2 separate regions of the Homo sapiens genome follow, and region 1 is linked to region 2. Evidence: promoter capture Hi-C in 16 types of primary human blood cells and fetal thymus (Javierre and others, 2016). All regions are on one chromosome and are shown on one strand. The core of a region is centred on a gene start or on the middle of the fragment in contact, and the rest is flanking DNA. Distances in the headings are between cores, read along the strand shown.

Region 1 (5,608 bases), core at 557-3,056, 850 kb after region 2:
ATCCCTTATCCTTAAGGCTTGATGTGGGAGGAAGTCAGTCTTCTGTATCTACTTCCTGCTGATTAAGGGCATTGGCTCTGCCAATGAGGGCATGGCAATCTCTGGCTGCCTGGTCTAAGGGTCCCAAGGGTGGGTCATCAGGAGAGTCTGAATCCAAGGCGGAAGACTCCAGTATTCTAAGGGAAGGTTTGAACATTACAAAGTAAAACAAGACTAGCACCTCTCTAATTTTAGATACATCTAAGATTACAATCAGATAATAACACTATTTAATAATACTATTAGATCCTTCTTAAAAGGAAAAATAACAATGGTTCATGGGTAAGTCATTGTAGAAGACACATAAGGGTTCTGGAAAAAGAAAAAAGGAATGGAGAGGAAGCAACTCTAGGCAGCAGTTGGTATCCTGCCAGCTTCAAATCTGTAGGGAATAGGGCTGGTGTCCTCCCTCTCTGGTGAAAATTCTGGCCACTGAGGTCCAACAGGTTAATAGCCTCACACTACCCAAATTTGGGCAAAACTTCAGGAAAGGTAGTGGGAATAGAATGCTGTGTTTTTGGTGCAAGAGTTGACTGACTTGTTGGGGGGAGTGGGTTCATAAAAGCAGGACCCTGGGCTGTTAGAGGCTAATCCTCAGGGCTAATCTGATTCATGAGTATCTCCCCTAATGCTCACTCAAGGACTCAGTGAAGAACATGCACCAAACTTGGGTTCCTACAGCCAGGCCATGCAAAGTGTAGGCTTAGGGAGACTCATTTCCCCCAGCATAGATGCAAGGGGTCAGAGGGTAGAGGGTGGTTCTGTCTTTGCTGCCTTGCAGCCAGGTCAGCTTTGAGGGAAACCCAGAAAGGGAAGTTCTAACTGGGCTCCCACAGGAAACAGGGTTGGGGCAGGATAGACGGGTTGACAGTAGGAACACGTGGCTCTCCTGGCTCCACAGTGAAATTCTCACTTCAAAGAGTGGACTTTTGTCTGGTTTCATTTTGCCTACTTCCCTCACACTTCCTTAAAGGTCTTGTGTTTCTAGTTTACTGGAAGAATGCAGAGATCAGAGGTAAATTTGTGTAATAAATCTGAACAGAACAGAAACAAAGTCCAGGATGGAGGGAATGTGAAAACTGCCAAGGAAAGGTCTTTTGTATTATTAGTTCGTAAGATTAATGCTAACTAATATGTAACTATATATATATATATATATATATATATATATATATGTTATGTATTAATTAACAAAATCAAATAATTATGTTACTAACTAAATTATATATATATGTTCCCTTTCTTCAACTTAAAGAATCAGAGTAGATAAATTTGCCTCTGTTTGATGACCAGAGATAGGTCTTTGCAAGTTAGGTTGGGGCCAGTTGAATTGTCTGATTCAGTGTGATCCTTAGCACTAACAGAAGCCACTTTAATCCCAAATTCTACAAATAGAAGCACCCGAAAACCTTGCCAAGTGCAGAACAGCTTATTTAAACACACACACACACACACACACACACACACACACACACACACACACCTGGCAGTAGGCTTTGGATTTCCCAGCACCTTTTTTTTTCTTAATTTTTAAGACTGCAATTCTCACCTAGATACTGGTACTAATGCAGAATAGGTATTCCATAAACATTTGTTCAAACAACAAATACACTAAGGTGATTTCCACGTATATTTTGTGAATTTGAAATTGATGCAATTACTTAAATTAAAAAATGGGTCTTCAGTTACAAGCACTCTACAATCTAATTACGTGAATACATTGCTAAGCGCTATTTTATTACCTATGTAGACAGAAGAATAATGTTCTCAGGGAATGAAAAATTTTTTTCCCCTTCAATGTTAAGATTTTGCTAAAACTGTCCAGTCTCCTAGAGAAAAAGACTAATTATAGTTGGGCAACAGCAATGGTTTTCCTTCATCAAAGGTGGATGTTAACTCTTGGAAAGAGCACACTAACATTCTTCCCAAAGCAGAAAGTTTTTTAACTTGGATTTCTACTAAGATAATAGATCATCTCATTCTTCACCAGGGAGTAGCTTACTGACCTATACATTGTTGTGGTAGTAACTGCCTGTGTTGGCATTACTGTAGACATACTGACTAAAGTGTGTTGGTAAAAATATAATTTATATCTAGCTTAAAGATTTAATAATCTAAAATGAATTTCCCAATGAGTAACAGATATCAGATATAAAAGAATATCAGGGCCGGGCACGGTGGCTCACGCCTGTAATCCCAGCACTTTGGGAGGCCGAGGCGGGCAGATCACAAGATCAGGAGTTCGAGACAAGCCTGGCCAACACTGTGAAACCCCGTCTCTACTAAAAATACAAAAATTAGCTGGGCGTGGTGGCGGGCTTCTGTAATCCCAGCTACTCGGGAGGCTGAGGCAGGAGAATCGCTTGAACCCAGGAGGTGGAGTTTGCAGTGAGCCGAGATCGCATCACTCCACTCCACCGTGGGCAACAGAGCGAGACTCCATCTCAAAAAACAAACAAACAAAAAAGAGTATCAGAAGTATGAAAACATCCAACTGATGCACTGATGGCATTAAAACTAAATGGAATCATTAAAGTCCTTCACACAAAAGGTGCTTGGCTCTCAGCTTTATTCCTCGCAGCTGTAGGTTGTAGACTTTTAAATATGCGTCTTCAAGGACTGCTTTAAGATATATAACTGACAGTACCTATGAGTCCTGCAGATAACAGGTTTGCTTTTGTTTTCTTCTTTAGAGTTTAGGGGTTTTTGTCCTGTTTCTACAAAAATACTTTAAAAATTATTCTTATGATATTTAGGCTTTAGTGTTCAGTTGATGATGCTTTTCTAAACTGATTGGCATGTAAGTATTTAAAATTTTTCTTTAAATCAGCTGTCAAGAGGCAATTAGGTGTCTGCATTGAATAAGTACCATTGGACATCTGTTAAATTTTGCTTGTAGATGACATATAAGATTTTTTGTTTATTTATTTATGTGGTTAGTTATTTTGAGACAGAGTCTAGCTCTGTCACCCAGGCCAGAGTGCAATCTTGGCTCACTGCAATCTCCACTTTCCAGGTTCAAGCCATCTTCCCATCTCAGCCTCCCAAACAGCTGGGACTAGAGGCATGCACCACCACAGCAGGTTAATTTTTGTATTTTTGTAGAGACAGGGTTTTGCCATGTCACCCTGGCTGGTCTTGAACTCCTGAGCTCAAGTGATCTGGCCACCTTGGCTTGCCAAAGTGCTGGGACTACAGGCATAAGCCACCATGCCTGGCCCCAGGTTTTTTTTTTTTTTTTTTTTTTAATTCTTTGCTTTCAGCTTGGCCCTCTCTCTTCTTTTAATACTTGTAATCTTATCTTAGTCATTTTTTTAAAACAGAAAAGAGCAAACAGTCATTTTCTTAAGTTTAGAAATCCTTATTTTATAAGAAAACTGGCCTAGCTAATCTAAATTGCACATTTCAGAAATATGGTATATGTGCTGTCATGCTTTTTTTTTTTTTTGCCTATTTTTACATAAATAATTAGCCAAACTTTAGGACCTACTCTAAAAATTCTAGAAAGAGCTTCACTGGGATTTTACAGGAATTATACTGAACGTAATTAGAGAGAACTACCTAATTATAACAGCGAGATGTTCCATCAGAAATGTGACAAGTCTCCTATATTTGTTCTGATCTTCTATGTCCTCTAGTACATGTTTGTAGCAAAGTAAAATACAGTATTTTAAAAACCTGGCACATTACTTGTTAATTCTTTAATTAGATTTTATGTAATTTTTGTGGTTATTATTAATAGCATTTATTTTCCTCGTTTTAACTGGTTGTTGGTGATACATTGGAAGGCAACTGATTTCATATTTATTTTATATCTCAAGCCTTACTAAATGATCTTATTGGATGTTAAATTTTTCAGCTGATTCTTTTAAATTTTTATTTTAATTTTTAATTTTTGTCACCAATAAATTGAAATCACAATGTGTACATTTTTTAAAAATGTAATCTGCAAATTATAATTTTCTTATTTCTTTTCCTATATTTATTCATTTCATTTCTTATTCTGGTGTTTCCAAACTAGCTAGATCTATAGGAAATATCGTATAATAGTATGGAGAAATCCTTGACTTCCAATATATGGAGAACTCTTATGTTTCATGAAACTCAGGTATATAATTGCTATTTTGTTTTGATAGACATACTGTACCACTAAAGCTTCCTTTTATTTCTAGCTTATTAAGAGGTTAGTATAGTATTATCACGTCCTTTTCATATTTGATATGGTAGAGTAAATGATATTAATTAATTTATGTATTATGAACGATCCTTGCATTCCTGAATTAAACCCTATTGGGTCATAGTATATTAATCTTAAAAGTTACTTTTCTATTCAGTCTGATGTGTCTTTTTAAAGATGTCTTTACCAAAAACAAAACAAAACATTCCTCACTGTTTTTCAATTAATACTAGGCTTTTTGGTTAGGGATTCTCTTTGAATAGGGTTCTTATATGTAGTTAAGAGGATTTTCAATTCAGTATTATTATTGTAGTCATGACCAAAATAATTTTCAAATGCTTTAATATAAATCTATACTTGGTTTGTACTTCTTCATACCTATAATTACTAATAAACTATGATGACTAATTTGTAATTTTCTAAGGCTTCAGCATCTTACATGAGATAATAACCAATTCTTTAATATAAATAAATCTTTTTTTGTGAGGTAGATGAAATATATGCAGAGAGATTTACAACATATTTTGGGCATAGAGTTACTTTTTGTAGAAAGGAACTCTGACTACAATAAATGAGAAATGTTCACGAAAGTAACTTAGAGGTTTATAAATGTTTCAAGTTGTTCTTGTGTATTTAAAAAAAATAAAAATTCTGATCATAGTCCACATATTTTTGAAACAAGTTTATTATTTTTTAAATCTGAGAATGTTACTTGTATTATCAAATAATGGATTTTAAATCAAAATATTTCATTTACAATGATTGAAATGATGTTTTAAATCTAAAATTGAATAATCATTTTAAAGATCAGGTAGAAGTACATTCACTTTATGGTTGTTAGAGATTAGCAACATCAATCTCCTTAGAACCAGGAATTATTTGCTACTACAACTGCATATTAAGACAGGTCTATGATGACTTGATTGGGGAGGGGTCTTTGGATCAACATTGTCTTTAATAAAAATTCTTATAAAAGAGTATTTGCATATATTCCTCAACTGAAGACTTTTTCTACAAGTAAAGGTAACTGGGAAAAGTTCCAAAGCAATTTTTTAAAAAAAGATTAAACATTTTAAAATCTTTAAATTGTTAGGGAGACAGGGTCTTACTATGTTGCCCAGGCTAGACTTGAACTCCTAGGCTCAAGTGATCCTCCTGCATAGTTGGACTACAGGTAGATGCCACCATGCCTGGCTAGAAGGGGAGAAGTTCTCTGATTTTGTGAGTTTTCTTATTCTTTCTTTTTTTTTCTTTTTCTTTTTTGAGGAGACAGGGTTTCACTCAGCTGTCCAGATTGGAGTGTAGTGGTATGATCATGGCTTGCTGCAGCCTTGACCTCCTGAACCCAAGGAATCCTCCCTCCTTAGCCTTCTGAGTGGCTGTGACTACAAG
Region 2 (6,353 bases), core at 1,397-3,896:
AGAAGACTGATCCAACTGACCATTTTAAAACAAATAGATGAGAAAGGCATAGGAAAGGCAGCGTGTGCAACACCAAGAGAAGAACAAGATCAATGCAGGACATTCCTTGTTGGGATAAAAATAGTCTTTTAGAATGGGAACTTTCTGGAGACAGATAAATTTTCTTGTAAAATTACAGCCATCTTCCACACGTTTGATAAATATGTGCAATCTATCCATGATCTCCCAGATGTGACAGCTCCATCAAGGAAAATGAAAAATCAAAAACGGTACCAGGTGCCACTCTTGGGGCTTGTCCAAAGGCAGCCAGGGGAAGAGTCTATTTTATTATGCTCTCCCCACAGTAAATAATAATCAACATCAGAGAAGGAGAGCATTTGGATTTGAACAGATGGCATCCAACATCTAACAAGCGAAGCAACACTTTCAAGCATTAGATCCTAAATGTCTGATGGTCCCAAGGATCAGGAGGGCTTATTTGTCTTAAGAGGGTTGGCAGGCAGGATCTCCTATAGTCACCATCCCAACGCTTAGGAATATGCGTCATTATCCAGTCAGCAACTAAAGGCGGAGAAAATTAAGCTACCACATTTTTATAAAATTTCCCCCTCTCCAGTAAAACTTGAGACAACCAAATCCAACCCTATCAGCCGCTATAAGTAAGAGAAGAGTAAGCCTGCAGGTAAACAAATGTATAAAGGTTAACAAACTTATCTAATTTTGACAAGGTTGTGCAACACCAAAAGAATCCGCAGGGTGCCCTTCCCGAGGGTGTACTGGAACATGCCTGCTCTGCAGCTATGTCTGCAATTTAAACTAAAAGCACTAACTTAGCTATTCAACTTTTTTTCCCTTCAATTGAAAGCAGTATCCTTTAAAAAATAAAAGCAAAACAGTAAACATACAAACACCTCAATGTTTTACTGAAGGTCAGCATGGATTTGTCTTTAGCACAACCGTACAGGTTTCCTCCTATACCTTTCAAACACCACTGAACTCCAAGGGTCACTTGCAAGGGGAGGAACGGATCTGGAGTCAGAGGGAGCAAGAGTCGCTGCCCGAGGGGAGATGAGACTCCATCCCCTGAGATTCAGAGGCCACGGAGGGCGGCTGGGGAGAGGGAAAGCTAGAGAATTCACACATTCACACACATACACACACACACACACACTCTCTCTCTCTCTCTCTCTGTCTCTCCCTCTCTCTCTCTCTCTCTCTCTCTCTCTCTCTCTCTCGGCTGGGCAACATAGTGGGAAAGGTCAGTCATGGGGAGGGAAGAGTTAAGGAGCAGAATGTCAAGGAGAGGGAAAAATAAAACCAGGATAGGCGGAGTAAAAGACTCGGAGGTGGGATGCCTTTGGAAGTTGGGGGTCCTGATGCAAGAAGTGGGGTGCTCGGGGCGAACTGTGTCAGGAAGGAGGTGGGGGGACAGGGGAAGACGCAGCCTGCGAGGCAGAAATCCGGCCAAGGGCAGGCGGCCGCCGCGTTCTCACCTGGGGGGTCCTTTCGGGGGGATTCTTCATCACCGCCTGGCGGAAGCTGTTATCTACGTAGGACGCCATCTCCCCTCTGGGAGCGGGCCGGGGCCGCTCCGCACCCTGGCCGGCCTCCTCCCGGCCCAGCGCCGCTGCTGCCTCCGCCCTGCGCGCTGCGCCCGCCCGCCCGCCCGCGACTAATCAGCCAAACCGCGGCGGCGGCGGCGCGGGGCCCGCGGGGGGGCGGCTCGGCTGGGCCCGGCGGCCGAGAGCGCGGTACAGGCGCGAGGGGCTGGACGCAGCCGGGAGGGTCGCGGCGCCCCTAGGCTGCCGTGCGATGCGGCCCGCAGGCGGAACTCCCCTTCCTCCTCCTCCTCCTCTTCCTCGCCGCTCCGCCGGCTTCCTCCGGCCCTGGCTCGACACGCCTCCCCGGCTCCACTCGGGGGACAGTGGCGGCTCCTCCTGGCCCCAGCGGGCCCGAGTTATTTTTAGGGAGGTACGAGTGGCAGTGGGGAGGGCTGTGGGCAGGCGGAGCCTCCTCCCCCACGGCGCTGAGGGTCGCCCCCTCCTCTCAGGGGCTTGCGCAGCCGCCGCCCAGGGGTCTCCGAGAATCACTTGGATCTTCCGCGTCCCCAGTCCTCGGGCGCCTCGGCCGCCGGTCGGGAGGACGGACCAGGTGGGTCTGGCTCAGGTCCGGGCGCTGCGAAGCCCGATCGCCTCGGCCGCCGCTCCTGGTCTCTGTCTACTGGGCTCGGCCGTCCCTCCCGACTGCTGCTGCATCCCCTCGGGCCGCCCAGCCGCCGCCGCCGCCGCCTCTGCTGCTCGGGCCGCCGCTGTGGGCTCCGCCGCCGCCGCCTCCCCCCATCAGCGCGCCCGGAGCGGAGCTGCCCCGGCGCCGGCGCCGCCGCGGCCAGAGCACCCGGCCCGGGCTGCAGCCCTCCGGCCCAGTCGCTCTCGGCAACTTTGTTCCTCGTCTGCGCGGGGCGGAGGAGGGGGAAGAGGGGGCCGCGGACAGCCCGGGTTCGGACTCCCGGCGCGGGCGTCCGAGGGCCGAAAGCCGAGAGCCGCGCACAGCCCCCTCGGAGAGAGTGTTTGGGAAGCGGCGATTCCCCTCCTCTTCCTCCGCCTCTTCCTCCTCCTGCGCCTTCTCCGGCCGCCGGAGCCGCTCCTCAGGGAGGAAGCGGCCTCTGGGGCTTGTTGCTTTGTGCTGCAACCATGGTGAGGAATGAGTGACAGCGTGGGGGCGAGTCGGCGGCCGCCGCATCATCGGGGGGCGGGGCAGCCCCGTCGCGCCGGGTCCCGCCTCCCCGCTCCCCGCCCGCCAGCGGCCGCGCCCTCGCGTCTGAGCGGCACCTTCGGCGGCGCCCAGGTGAGCAGCGCTCTGGCCGCAAGTGGGTCGCGGAGCCCTCGGCCGGGCTGTCGGGTCCCGCGCGCGGCCTGGACCCGAAGAGGGGGCGCAAGTCCTGGTGCCCCGGAGAGAAGCGCAGGGCTTTCCTCACGCAGTGTCCCCCACTGTCTCACGCCGCGCCCCCTCCCCACACCCGACGCGCCCTACTAGGAGACCCAGCCGCGTCGGGTCGCTGCTCCCCGCCCGCTCCTGGCGCCACGCCGCCGCCCAGGGGCTGAAAGCTAACCTTGGGCAAAAGACCGGCCCACCAGCCCGGGCTGTACTGGGCATTCTTTTTGAGCCCAAGAGTTGCGTCCGAGTTGCTTCTGTGGCGATAAATCCTCTTAGGATTTATTTTGCTTATTTGTAATTTGCTGCACCCTCCCCTGCTTTCCAAGCCCACTCTGGCACCTCAGACAGTAAAATGACCACGAAATTAGGCAGAGAGGTTTCAACACCAGACCCACTACCACCCCTAGACCAACAAACACTCCAGATTTAAAGTTGATCACTCCTTAGCGACAGACCAGGATGGCAAGTTCTGTGACATAATCAGAAACATTTATTGGTAGGTCTGGCTTTGCCTTGGACAGAACAAGCCTCCTCCTCTAGATGCTCAAATTTCCAAACCGGACCCACATGGTGCAGAAACAATACCTCGTCCTTCAAGATGTCACCGCTCCTGCTGATTCCCTCAGCTCCCCCCCACTCCTTGCCCCGGCCACGTAGAGGTGTGTTAAGGTCAGCCCAAGCATCGGGGACCACTCTGCTGTTCTGGTCCCAGGGATTTATTTTTGTTTGCCCCCACCCCCCACAAGTTCTTATTTTGATATCTATAGACACAATGAGTTTTATGTATGAGCTACTGCGTTGAACTTTTCAAACATGATTTTCAACATCTAGTTTAAACACTTGGAATAGATTGTCAGCTAACATTTTGGGGTTCCTTAAGTCACCTGTGTGCACTAAACAGCTTGTGTGACTTCCTAGCAAAGGGACTGTCCCTGCCCAACCTTGTGAAAGGGAATCTGAGTTACAAATTGTATCTGTAGACCTTTTTATATTACTCTTGCTGGAACTGCTTCTCTATATTTCTCTTTCACCTCTTAGTTGAGCGCCAACATCAAATTCTCTATGACATAGGCCACTACCTTGAAAGCAAAGGAACATGAATAAGTGCCAATACAGCTCTGAAAAAAGGAGAGAGGCAGATAAAAGAATTCAAACCCAATGAAGTGAAAAAATATAACTGACATCTCCACCTGGTGTCTAATAGACATCTCAGAATTCACATGTGCAAACCAGGCTCCAGATCTCCTGTCTCAGACACCCACAGCCTTCCCCATCCTCTGTTAATCACATCTACACCATTCTCACTTCCTGGGTGAAAACGTTGACTTCCTTGACTCCTTTCTTTCTGTTATACCTCAAAAGTGTCAGTAAAAATCGTCAGCTCAACCTCCAGAATGCCATATCTGAACTCTAACCTTTATCTACCACTTCTACTGCCATGACCCTGGTGCAATCCAGCATCATGTCTGGCCAGCACTTTGTCATAACCACCCACCTGGTCCCCCTCTTTCTAACCTTGCTTGCCATACAGTTCATTTCCAACACAGCAGCCAAAGTGTGAATTCTTTTCACTCCTTCTCAAATCATTCCTCTGCTTAGCTCCTCATACCACTCAAGGTAAAAGCCAAAGTCTTACCATGGCCTGAATATCCTATGGACCTTTATCTCTCTGACCTCTTCTACTATTCTGTTCCCAAGCACATTAGCCTCCATGTTGTTTCTGAAACAGCAAATTCCAGTCTCATGACCTTTCCATCTGCTGTTCCCTCTACTGCCTGGATTATCTCTCCCCCTCTCCCCACCCCACTTGCACCCACAAAAACAAAAAACAAAAAGAAAAATGCACACACACAACAACCAAAATATAGAATGTTGTTCCTCATTGTCATCATATCTTCATTTGAATGTCACCTTCCCTGTAACTCCATACACTCTGGTTATCTTCGTCGCTTTACTTACCACCTAACATACTGTATATTGTACAGGTGCTTGCCCACTTAGGATGGGGTTACATCCTGAGAAACCATTGTAAGTCGCAAATATTGTAAGTCAGAAATGCATTTAATACCCTGATAAACCCATTATAAAGTGGAAAAATCGAAAGTCAATTTATTGACCATCGTAAATTGAGAACCATCTATACTTATTTATTTTATTTATTGTTTTATCCCTCCACTGTAATGTAAGCTTCTAAGTCAGGGATGTTTGTCCCTTTTATTTACTGCTATATCCTCAACACAAGACAGGCAGCCAACAAATAGGTATTAAATGGATACATGAAGTAGTTCATGTTACCTTGTATTTGTATGAGATTTTTACATACATTATCTCACTTGTGTCCCTGGTTGCGGGGAGAAAACTGGGAGAGGAAACTTAACCTCTCTGAGCCTGTTTTCTGTTTTATAAAAAGAGAGTACAAATTGAATAGTCTGGCCAGGCAAAGTGGCTTACACCTGTAATCCCAGCACTTTGGGAGGCTGAACCAGGAGGATAGCTTGAGGCCAGGAGTTCAAGACCAGCCTGGTCAACATAGCAAGACCACTGGCTGCACAAAAACTTAAAAAAAAAAAAGGAGCGGGGCATGGTGGGGTGCACTTGCAGTCCTAGCTACTCAGGAGGCTGAGGTGGGAGGTTATCTTGAGCCCCGGAGTTCAAGGTTGCAGTGAGCTATGATCACACCATGGCACTCCAGCCTGGGTAACAGAGCAAGACCCTGTCACAAAAAAAGAAAAAGTTGCATACCCTGAAGATTTGTGACGATCCAAGATAATACATGCAAAGTGCCTTGCATAGTGGTTTAACAACAGTATATACTCAATAAATGGTAGTTATATTTAAGATTATTCTCATCATTGCAACTCTCTGAGGCTAGTGGGACAGTGTTATCTTATTTACAGATGAAGAACTGACACTAAAATAGGCTACATGACTTGTCCTAGTTCCCGGACTGCCTTTAACTTTAGAAAGTTCTGGAGCCAGCTAACAAATGGGGATCCATATACTCTATCATAAATACTAAAAGCTACAAATTAACTGGGGGAGTACTGAGTACTACTGCAGGGAGTACTGGTATCTGGTCTGCAACTGGAATCCCCTTTTCTTTCCATCTCAGCTTCATCCTATCCCATGGAAAGGCTCACACATAAGAGGACAACCCAGCTAGTGCGGTGGCTCATGCCTGTACTAATTCCAGTACTTTGGGAGGCCGAGGTGGGCAGATCGCGAGGTCAGGAGTTCCAGACCAGCCTGACCAATATGGTGAAACCCTGTCTCCACTAAAAATACAAGAATTAGCCTGGCGTGGTGGCGTGTGCCTATAGTCCCAGTTATTCAGGAGGCTGAGGCAGAAAATTTGCTTTTACCTGGGAGGTGGAGGTTGCTTGCAGTTAGCTGAGATCAAGCCACTGCACTCCAGCCTG

What was found. The method cuts DNA at HindIII sites, captures the fragments that hold promoters and counts their contacts. A CHiCAGO score of 5 or more calls a contact.
Region 1: a fragment that was not itself captured here is called in contact with the fragment with the promoter of RAPGEF2 in region 2 in 1 of 17 cell types (megakaryocytes); the score reaches 6.0 in megakaryocytes.

Annotation. Positions count from the first base shown.
Region 1 is chr4:158,245,802-158,251,409 of GRCh38, reverse strand. The region is part of intron 12 of TMEM144 (transmembrane protein 144); the gene reads right to left. Among named protein-coding and RNA genes, the nearest start is that of TMEM144, 38 kb to the right of the region's middle. The HindIII fragment of the contact is 4,780 bases long and covers 1-4,196 here.
Region 2 is chr4:159,099,372-159,105,724 of GRCh38, reverse strand. It overlaps RAPGEF2 (Rap guanine nucleotide exchange factor 2), which reads right to left and starts at 2,646. Exons shown (of 30, transcript NM_001394067.2): 1 at 1,494-2,646. The coding sequence starts at 1,562. RefSeq lists silencers at 1,507-1,926, 1,894-2,188, 1,937-2,226, 2,267-2,486, 2,617-3,156 and an enhancer at 2,805-3,496. The HindIII fragment of the contact is 5,553 bases long and covers 1-5,123 here.